2 separate regions of the Homo sapiens genome follow, and region 1 is linked to region 2. Evidence: promoter capture Hi-C in 16 types of primary human blood cells and fetal thymus (Javierre and others, 2016). All regions are on one chromosome and are shown on one strand. The core of a region is centred on a gene start or on the middle of the fragment in contact, and the rest is flanking DNA. Distances in the headings are between cores, read along the strand shown. Region 1 has its middle 52 kb from the start of LINC02687. Region 2 holds the start of CHST1 (carbohydrate sulfotransferase 1).

The links. The method cuts DNA at HindIII sites, captures the fragments that hold promoters and counts their contacts. A CHiCAGO score of 5 or more calls a contact.
Region 1: a contact is called between a fragment that was not itself captured here and the fragment with the promoter of CHST1 in region 2, in 2 of 17 cell types (M1 macrophages and M2 macrophages). The highest score is 5.3, in M1 macrophages.

The regions. Positions count from the first base shown.
Region 1 is chr11:45,421,639-45,425,767 of GRCh38, forward strand. No RefSeq gene overlaps it. Among named protein-coding and RNA genes, the nearest start is that of LINC02687, 52 kb to the left of the region's middle. RefSeq lists an enhancer at 1,272-1,772. The HindIII fragment of the contact is 5,858 bases long and covers 1-4,129 here.
Region 2 is chr11:45,664,108-45,667,960 of GRCh38, forward strand. CHST1 (carbohydrate sulfotransferase 1) reads right to left here and starts at 1,515. Exons shown (of 4, transcript NM_003654.6): 1 at 1,071-1,515. The HindIII fragment of the contact is 4,208 bases long and covers 1-3,548 here.

The sequences.
Region 1 (4,129 bases), core at 1,028-3,527, 240 kb before region 2:
AGATGACCCAGGTAGAGGAGGTGAGAAATGGTGTTCTAGGCAGTAGGAGCCTCCTCTGCAAAAGCACAGACCCAGCTGTTTCCTAGCTCTGGTGGAGCTGGTGGGAGGGGGCTGGTCCCTTCCTCTCTCATAGGCTGTGGGAGGAGAGTGCTGGCCAAGCCATGGGCAGACTCCTCTGAGTTCCCCCATGAGGATGGAGACAGGTCCAGTCAGGGGCTGGCCAGAACAGGGGTGTGGAGCCAGCATCTGAGCTGAGACTCAGGGCAGATCTCTGAAACAGAAGTCAAATCCAAGGTTCCTTTAAGACCCATTCACTACTTGGCTTCCCCTAGAGACACCCTGCATTTGCTATTCTGTGCACTTTCCACGTGTTTGCAAGTTTTGATTGAACAAACACTGGCTGGGGCACAGTGAACCCAAATAATTGTGTGCCTGTCAACGGTACATGTTAATTGGAGAGTTGTAGAGTCCGCAGGATGGGTCACAAGGGAAAAGCCAATTACTCCATGTACCTGTTTGAAAGGCTCCCGCTCCTGGATTCCTGACTGGCATTAGAAAGCTCTGTATTGGTCCATGTTATTGATTTTCCTCCTGCCTCAGTTGATGGGCTCGTTAATTGACAATTACCTTTTTCCCTGTGTTGGGAAAATTGACAACAACGACCCGAAGTGTTCAAGTTTCATTTGAGCCGAGCTAGGCCTTTACCTGTTTAACCTATAACAAGTCCCAGGAGGCAACTCTGGGGAGCGGGAGCCTCCAAGGAGGCACCAGGGATGTTCAGGGTGAGCTTGGGTGCTATCGGATGCTGACTAGGGCATGGAGCCTGCCAGGGCCAAAAGCCTGAGGGTGGAGTTGGGCCCAGGCAGACTGAGGCCTATACACAAAAGCTCCCATTGAGACCAATTCATGTGTGGCTCCAGCAGGCAGTGAAGCAGGGGATGGCTGTTTCCTGAACACCTACTATGCACCAGACACTTGCTCCTAATTGCACTCCCCATAAACTTTTAATATTACAGGTAAGCTCTATATCTGTTATATACTGTATGTATGCTTTATATGTAAAACAAGTAATATTTTTTGTTCTGTTCCCCGACACAGAAAACAAATTGTTGCTGTGTTAGGGGGCAATATCGTCCCCACTGAGAATGTATGGTGTAGAGAAACTAAGGCAAGGACCCTGGAATATAGATTTGGTGGGGCTGGGGTCCCACTTACTCCAGACACACTGGGTATGGGCAGCAGAGCTTGGTCAAGGATAAAGGCTTAGGCATCTGGCTTGGGTTCAAGTCTCTCCTATGGCACTTAATGTTTGGCTTAACCTCTCTGAACCTCAGTCTTCTCATCTGTTAAATGGATCTGGAAACAGGATTCACTTTCCAGTGGCTCATAATGGTAATACAATGAAGTAATGTATGTAGAGTGCTTGGCACACAGTAAGCTCTCAATAAATTACAGTGGCTACTATGGTCATTACTTCCGGAACCCACTTGGTGATGAAGCAAGGATTCTTGGCATGCTCCCTGCTCCTCAAGGGCACAGCTATATCTTATTCATCTTGGTGGCCCTGGCCCTTGGTGGGGGCTGGGCAGCATCTGTTGCTGTGTGAACCGTCAGCTCTTGGGCAGGTTTGTTCTGGCTCTGATCAGGCCAAACAGCAGAAGAAAAGATCGGGGACAACAGGGGCTGCCCACGAGAACCTGGGGGCCACGTGTTCCTCTGGGAACACCATGTCCAGCCACCAAAAGGAAATTGCTGTTTTAGCCTCTGCAGATGTGTGAGCGACTTCAGAGACTTCCTTAAACTTCCGCCTCCCTCTGAAGTTGCCCAGCCAGACCATCTGCCCAAGGCTGACCCAATGTGCCCAAGGAGTCTGACGTTTTCTGCTTAGATGGGGGAAAACCCCGTTATTCCCGTTATTGAATGCCTGAGGGTCGGGGCTTGAAGGCTCAGTGCTAGCTGGCACCAGTCTCCTCCTCTTAGCCCAGCCGGGAGGTCAGACACTCTGGCATGGGATCAACAGCTACCCTGCCTGAAGAGTCACGCCTCTCAGACCAAGGGGCAAACTTTACAAGGACCAAAACCTTCCCCAGAGCTCTGTCGTGGGAGGTGGCCACTTGAGTGTTGCCAGTACCAACGGGACTGTTGCCATTTTATAATAGCTAAAGTTTCTAATTCAAATTCAGCAGAGGCATTCCCTTTCCCTCCCCACCCCCACCCTACCCCAATTATGCCTGGCATTTGACACTGTGCAGCCTCTTGGAGACTTGAGAGTTTTCACTGTACACCATGGCAGAGAAAACACACATCATCACAAACCCACCCAGTAGGCACAAGCCACAGACTTGGCTGGGTGCACTGATTTTCAATTATTTTTAAGCTGTTTATCCCCTTCTTCAAGTGAAATCTTATGTGGAGGCCAATTTATATCCAACAGTTACAAATAGCCCTAATGTGTGACAGGAACAGAAATTAACCCGTGTGTGAATATCTCCAGCTTTCTCCCAGCCCATCCCTCTTGCTTTCCAGACAGGCCTCAAGGGTTCTTCTTTGTGTATGTGATCACTATAGCGAGCGAGAGGAAAGAGAAGTAGAAGAAGCCTGACACCTGGTTGCTCTTCTTCCCTGCAACTCCTTCTCCTCTCCCTCCCCCTAGACCCCAAAACTCCAAGGATGCAATTTGAAAGTTACCAGTTGGTGGTGATGGGTTCAAATCCCAGCCCAGCACTCACTAGCCAGATCACCAGGAGCAAGTCACTTTGCCTCCCTGAGCCTCTATTGGTCAACTGTTCAAAATGAGAAAAAGAATCTCGTTACCCTTTCTCACTGCACTGCCACCGGGACAGAATGGATCTGTCAGTGTGAGAACAAAGTCTGAGGGGCTGTCCTGGGAACTGGGAAATCACCCTGTTGAGTTTTGTGTCTTTTGGACCCTTTAAGGTGGCAGGTGGCAGAGGCAGACACTCCACTGACTGTTCAGGATGCCAAGCCTGGGAAATCCAAACTGCTTATGTTTTGCTTGGAGAAAATTTTAAAAAAGGAATAGCACTTTCCTTTCCCATTCCATGGAGCAGGACCTGCTTTGCGCTCTGTTCTGAACATTTCGTTCTCTGAGTTTTGAAAGTATTCCTGTTCTGGTTTTGTTTGTGATTCCTATTTCTGCAGAGGAGAAATTTCAGCCACTGGAGCGGTAGTTGGAGGCCTCTCCGGGGCTTTTTCTGGGGCTCAGAGCAAGATGGTTTTAGGTGCTGCCCAAACATCGCTCTCCCCTGGGTATTCTTCCATGACCCAGTCTTTCTTCCCGGGGGGAGGCAGCAGGGACGAGATTGAGGTCCCTCACTGTGCAAAGAGGTAGGAATTGATGAGTTTCTCTGCACAGGTCCTGGTGACACTTGTGTGGGGTCTGGCTCAGTTCTCATCCCACTTACAGTGAAGGGGCCTATGTGTGGGGTGGAGGGGCCTTCAGGATTGCCCTGCCTAGAAACCAGAAGAGGGACACCAGCAGGGCCAAGTGGAAGCCACTTGCTTTTGGCAATTTGGAAGGGAAGACACTATAGGGAACCAGTGACTGCCAAGAGTCTCCTGTTGCCATGCTCTGTTCTGGGAGCCTTCTAAATGGCAGCTCATTACATCCTCAAGTGACTCTGTAAGGCAAGCAGAATTGTCCCCTTCTGGGGATGGGGAAATAGAGGTTCAGAGGAGTTAATGACTTACCTAGGACCCCACAGCTAATAAATGTGGTCGAGCCAGGATGGACAGAAGCCAAGAAGAGACTATCACTCAGTGAGATGGGGGAGACATTGGGAAGGGGGGCTTCCCAGGAGCCAGACCAGGTCTTGGAATTCATGTGCCCACAGGTCAAGGTGATCTGAAGCAGTTGGCTGGGCTGATTAGTAGGGGGCATCATCCATGCTGACAATGATGGTTTTTTGAGGATTACTGAGTGCATGTTGGTGGGTAAGAGGAACTCTGCTGAGGAATCTGAGGAGGCTGTTTGAGCCCAGCTGGGAGAAATGAGGGGAGGAGGTGGGCCCAGGATATTTAGCAACGCTGCAGCCTGTGGAGTCACTGACCACACAATGTTATTGCTTATGTCCCACGGCTGTTCTACTGAATGAGAGGGTTCAGGTTG
Region 2 (3,853 bases), core at 265-2,764:
CCTGTGCTGGTCAAAGCAGCTTCCTCCCAGCCAGGGTGCCTGACTCCTGCGCCCAAGCCTGCCCCCAGCTCCTCCCACCCCTCCAGAAGTTGCTGGACTGAATTTCTGTCCTTGACTGGACAGCCACCTCCCCTGCCCCAGCCTCCAGCTCCCTGTCAATGGCCGGCCCAAGCCCGTCTTCAGGCACCTGGACCCTAGGAGTGGCCCTTCCTAGGGAGTCCGCTGCCGAAGAGCAGTTTTAAGTCCACCAAGAGGAAGCCGGCCCCAGAGCTGAGGAAGGCAGTCCTGTGAAAGGGCAGGCCCGGGGTGGGGGAGGGGGCACACCTGAAATCAGGCCAAGGTGCCACTCCAGGACGACCCCCGGGTCTTACCTTCCTCAGGCAGCCTGGCCTTTTAACGCCCAGCATCCCAGCTAGGGTTACTCTGGGCTGTTACCGCGAAAGCCAGCACTGGGTCCCTGGAGCCTGGGAGGGGCTGATCCCCGGGTCCTACCCAGAGAAGAGCGGGAGGGTTGTTCCGGCTTTCCGTGGTGGGCTCTGCACCATCCGGCGGCTCCGGCCCCACAGGGGCCCAGCTCATCGCAGCGGTCTGGGTGCGGAGGCCGGGCCAGGGCTGGGAGCAGGAAGCAGGGAGCGGCGCCCCCGCCTCCGGGTGCAGCTGGGTTTGGAAAGTTGGTGCGGGCGCGGGGACCTCAGGGTCTCAAGGCGCCTCCGCAGACCCGAGCCAGGCGGGTCGTGGGACGGTGAGCCCGGAGCAGCCCCTGAGTGCGCTCCGCAGCGGAGGGGAGCCAAGCGCCTCGGGGGCCACCGCGCGTCTCAAGTTTGCTGCCCTCCTCGAATGGGGGCAGGGAGGGCTGAGGTGATCGCGGCGCTCACCGGCCACCAGCCCCGGCAGCCCCTTCCTGCGCCCAACACGCCGCCGTTCCTCGCCGCCGCCACCCCTCCGCTCACCGCCGGTAGCTGCTGTCCCCGAGCGGAGGGGCGTCTCCCACCGCGCCCGCGCCCCTCCCGGCTGCTGCGGCGGAGTGTCCGCTCCCGCCCGCCCCGGAGCCCGCGGGGCCCGGCCAATACCTGGTCGGGGACGCGCCGGGAGCAGCTGCAGCGCCCAGCGCCGGCTCCATCCTCGGGTCTGGAGTCAGGGTCGCCGGGGACCCGCGGGTGGCGGCGGCGGCAGCAGCCGCGGCGGCATCCTCCGCCTCCCGCGCCCTCCTCCTCGGCCTCCCTCCTCCCTCCTCTTCCTCCGACTCCGCGCGCGCCTCACGGGCCCCTCTTCATGGCCCGGGGGCGCGAGCCCGGGGCGGCTCGAGCAGCTGAGTGCGTTCTCTCCGGCCGGACGCGGGACCCGGGGCCGGGGCTCAGGGACCCGAGAGATGCCGGGACAGGGGCCGGGACCCGGAGCGCCGCAGCCCCGGGCGCCGGAGGAGAGCAGCAGCCGCAGGCACCAGAGCCTCTCGGAGCGCCCGCCCGCGTCCCCGAGCCAAGAGCAGCGGCGGCAGCGGCGGCTACAGCTCCGAGCGAGCGGCAGGCGCTGCGGTCCCGGCTCCACCCCCGAGCCGCCCGCCCCTTCTCCTCCCCACCCCTTCGGCGCGCGCCTTCCCGCCCCCCGCGCCGCCCCAGCCGCGAGCGCCCTGGACACCCACTCCGCAGCCAGGCTCCGGAGCCCGCCCCCACCCACCCGCCGGGGGCAGCCACGCCCACCACCCGGACTTCGGGCGGCCGGCGGGCAAGGGCACCGGCTGTCTCTGGCACCTCTCCGCGTAGCCTCCCTTCCCCTTACCCCCGAGGGCGCTGCTGGCCGGGCCGCCAAAGCCTTTCGCCCCCCCAGCGCCCCTCGCCGCGGAAGTCCTGCTGGAGTCCCAGCCTGGCCCCTGGCCCAGCTGTCCTTTACCTCTTGCCCAGCCAGCGGCACAGAGGGACTTCAGAACCCAGAACTGAAGCCAACCATCTCTGTGTGCAATACCCTGACACACACCCCTAGCCTTTCCTCCTTCCCCGCCCCTCTGCTTCTCAAGTGTGGGGATGAATCATTTGTCCCCGCTGCAGTTGTCCCTCTTGGGCAGGGTCAGGGGGTGTCTTAATGGGACCTTAGAGTGGGTTTGCTGGCTGACCGTCTTCTAGGCCGCTCCTCCACACTGCCCACCTTCTTCCTACCAGACTGCCCCTGGCTTTCTAGGTGGCAATCTGGAGCCACCACTGCTTTTATGGATGAGGGATGGGGACAGAGCTGGCCAGCCGAGCACCTTGGGCCTGTATCCTCTGCACAAATATTGACTGAGCATCTTCCACAGGCCTGGCCTTCATGGGCACCAGGGACTGGTTGATGAACCTCTCAGAGTGGAGTGGAGGAGAAGCAGGGTGCATGAGCAGAGCAATATCATGTGATCAGTGGCCCCTGGGCTGGAGAGGACGGCCAGGAGTCCCAGCTCTGCCACCACATCTGACATGACTGAGGCTGCCCACCCCAGTGGCCTGTTTCCTCATCTGGAGACTAGGAAGGTGCTTTGTCTGGCTGAACCTCTGATGCTCCTCAGTTCTGACCAAATGGTTATTTCTGAAGCAGAGGAACAGTCAGCCTTCATCTCCACCTGGAATCTCTGATTCCCGACTATAGCTCTCCATCACTCCTGGACTGGGGCGCAGAGAGCAGTGGATGGCTTGAAAACTCCAGGCATTCTGGGAAAGCCTCGTCCCCGATGTATGGGCAAGCAGCTGCTGCCTCCATCCCACACAGTGAAGCACAGCAGAATGGTTAGCACAGCAGTTTCCTGGGTCAGAGGAACCTGCTGTGTGTTTGCTGGGTGACTTTGTGTGAGTGATCAGCCTCTCTGCGGCTCAGTTTCCTCATCCAGAAGACAGAGGTACTGATCCTCACCCTGTAGGGGTGTTGTGAACACTGGATGGTAATGTGTGTAGAGCATTCAGCAGTGTCTGGCAAGGGGGTGAGTACTTAATAATTGCACATTGTTGCGTTCAGGGTAGCCAGGAACAAACATTCACTCACTCGCCAAGAGGAGAACATGACAGCTGCACTTCCCTGGAGGACTGGGCTCTCGGGTCATCAAGAAGGTCTCCCTCTCTCCACCCAGAGCAGATGGTATGAAGGCCCTTGCCCCAAGGGTCCCACTAGACCAAATGGTCATTTATCTTGGTCACAATTGCAAACTCATAACTATAAACTCCTCTCCCCCATCTCCACCCCCATCAAGCTGGAGGGGCTAACAGCACCTTCCAGTGCGCATTCCTGTAGCCACAGCACCTGGGATGGCAGAGTCAGTCCTCAGTCCTGACTCCAAGGCTACCAAGTCTGTTTCTCCACCTGCCTTCCCCCTCCCCACCCCCACCCAGGGAGTGGCAGCGTACTGAGATGCCTAACAAGAGTGGTGCTGACCTTCCAAAAGCTAAGACTTCATGTTTCCAAATCGTGACTGTCCCTCTATAAAAAACCAAGCTCTAATAGCCTTGGGCTGAGCCATCAGAACCTTCCTTTTCACCCAGAGTTAATCCCTCCCCAAGTTTTCAGGCTGACGAGAATAGTCAGGGTTTAGAGAAAGCTTTCTCTATCTTGCACTACCAGATCCAGCGCCTCATTTTTCAAATTCTGGTGTATTTCGGGTAGAGAGGAGGGAAAAGTACATCTGGCTGACATGAAAAGATTGGTGTGGTTGTAATGTAAAGACAGAGTGGAATTTGGGAAATTTTTGAAGAACATTTAAACTCTAAAAATAGACAAAAGACCCGCTCTCAGAAACACTAGGATTCTGTCTCCCATTTCCTGGAATCCCCCACTTGACAAACATGGGTGTTTTAGGAGTGCCTATGGTGTGGATTGCACTGTGACAGGTGCCGTGGGGAAA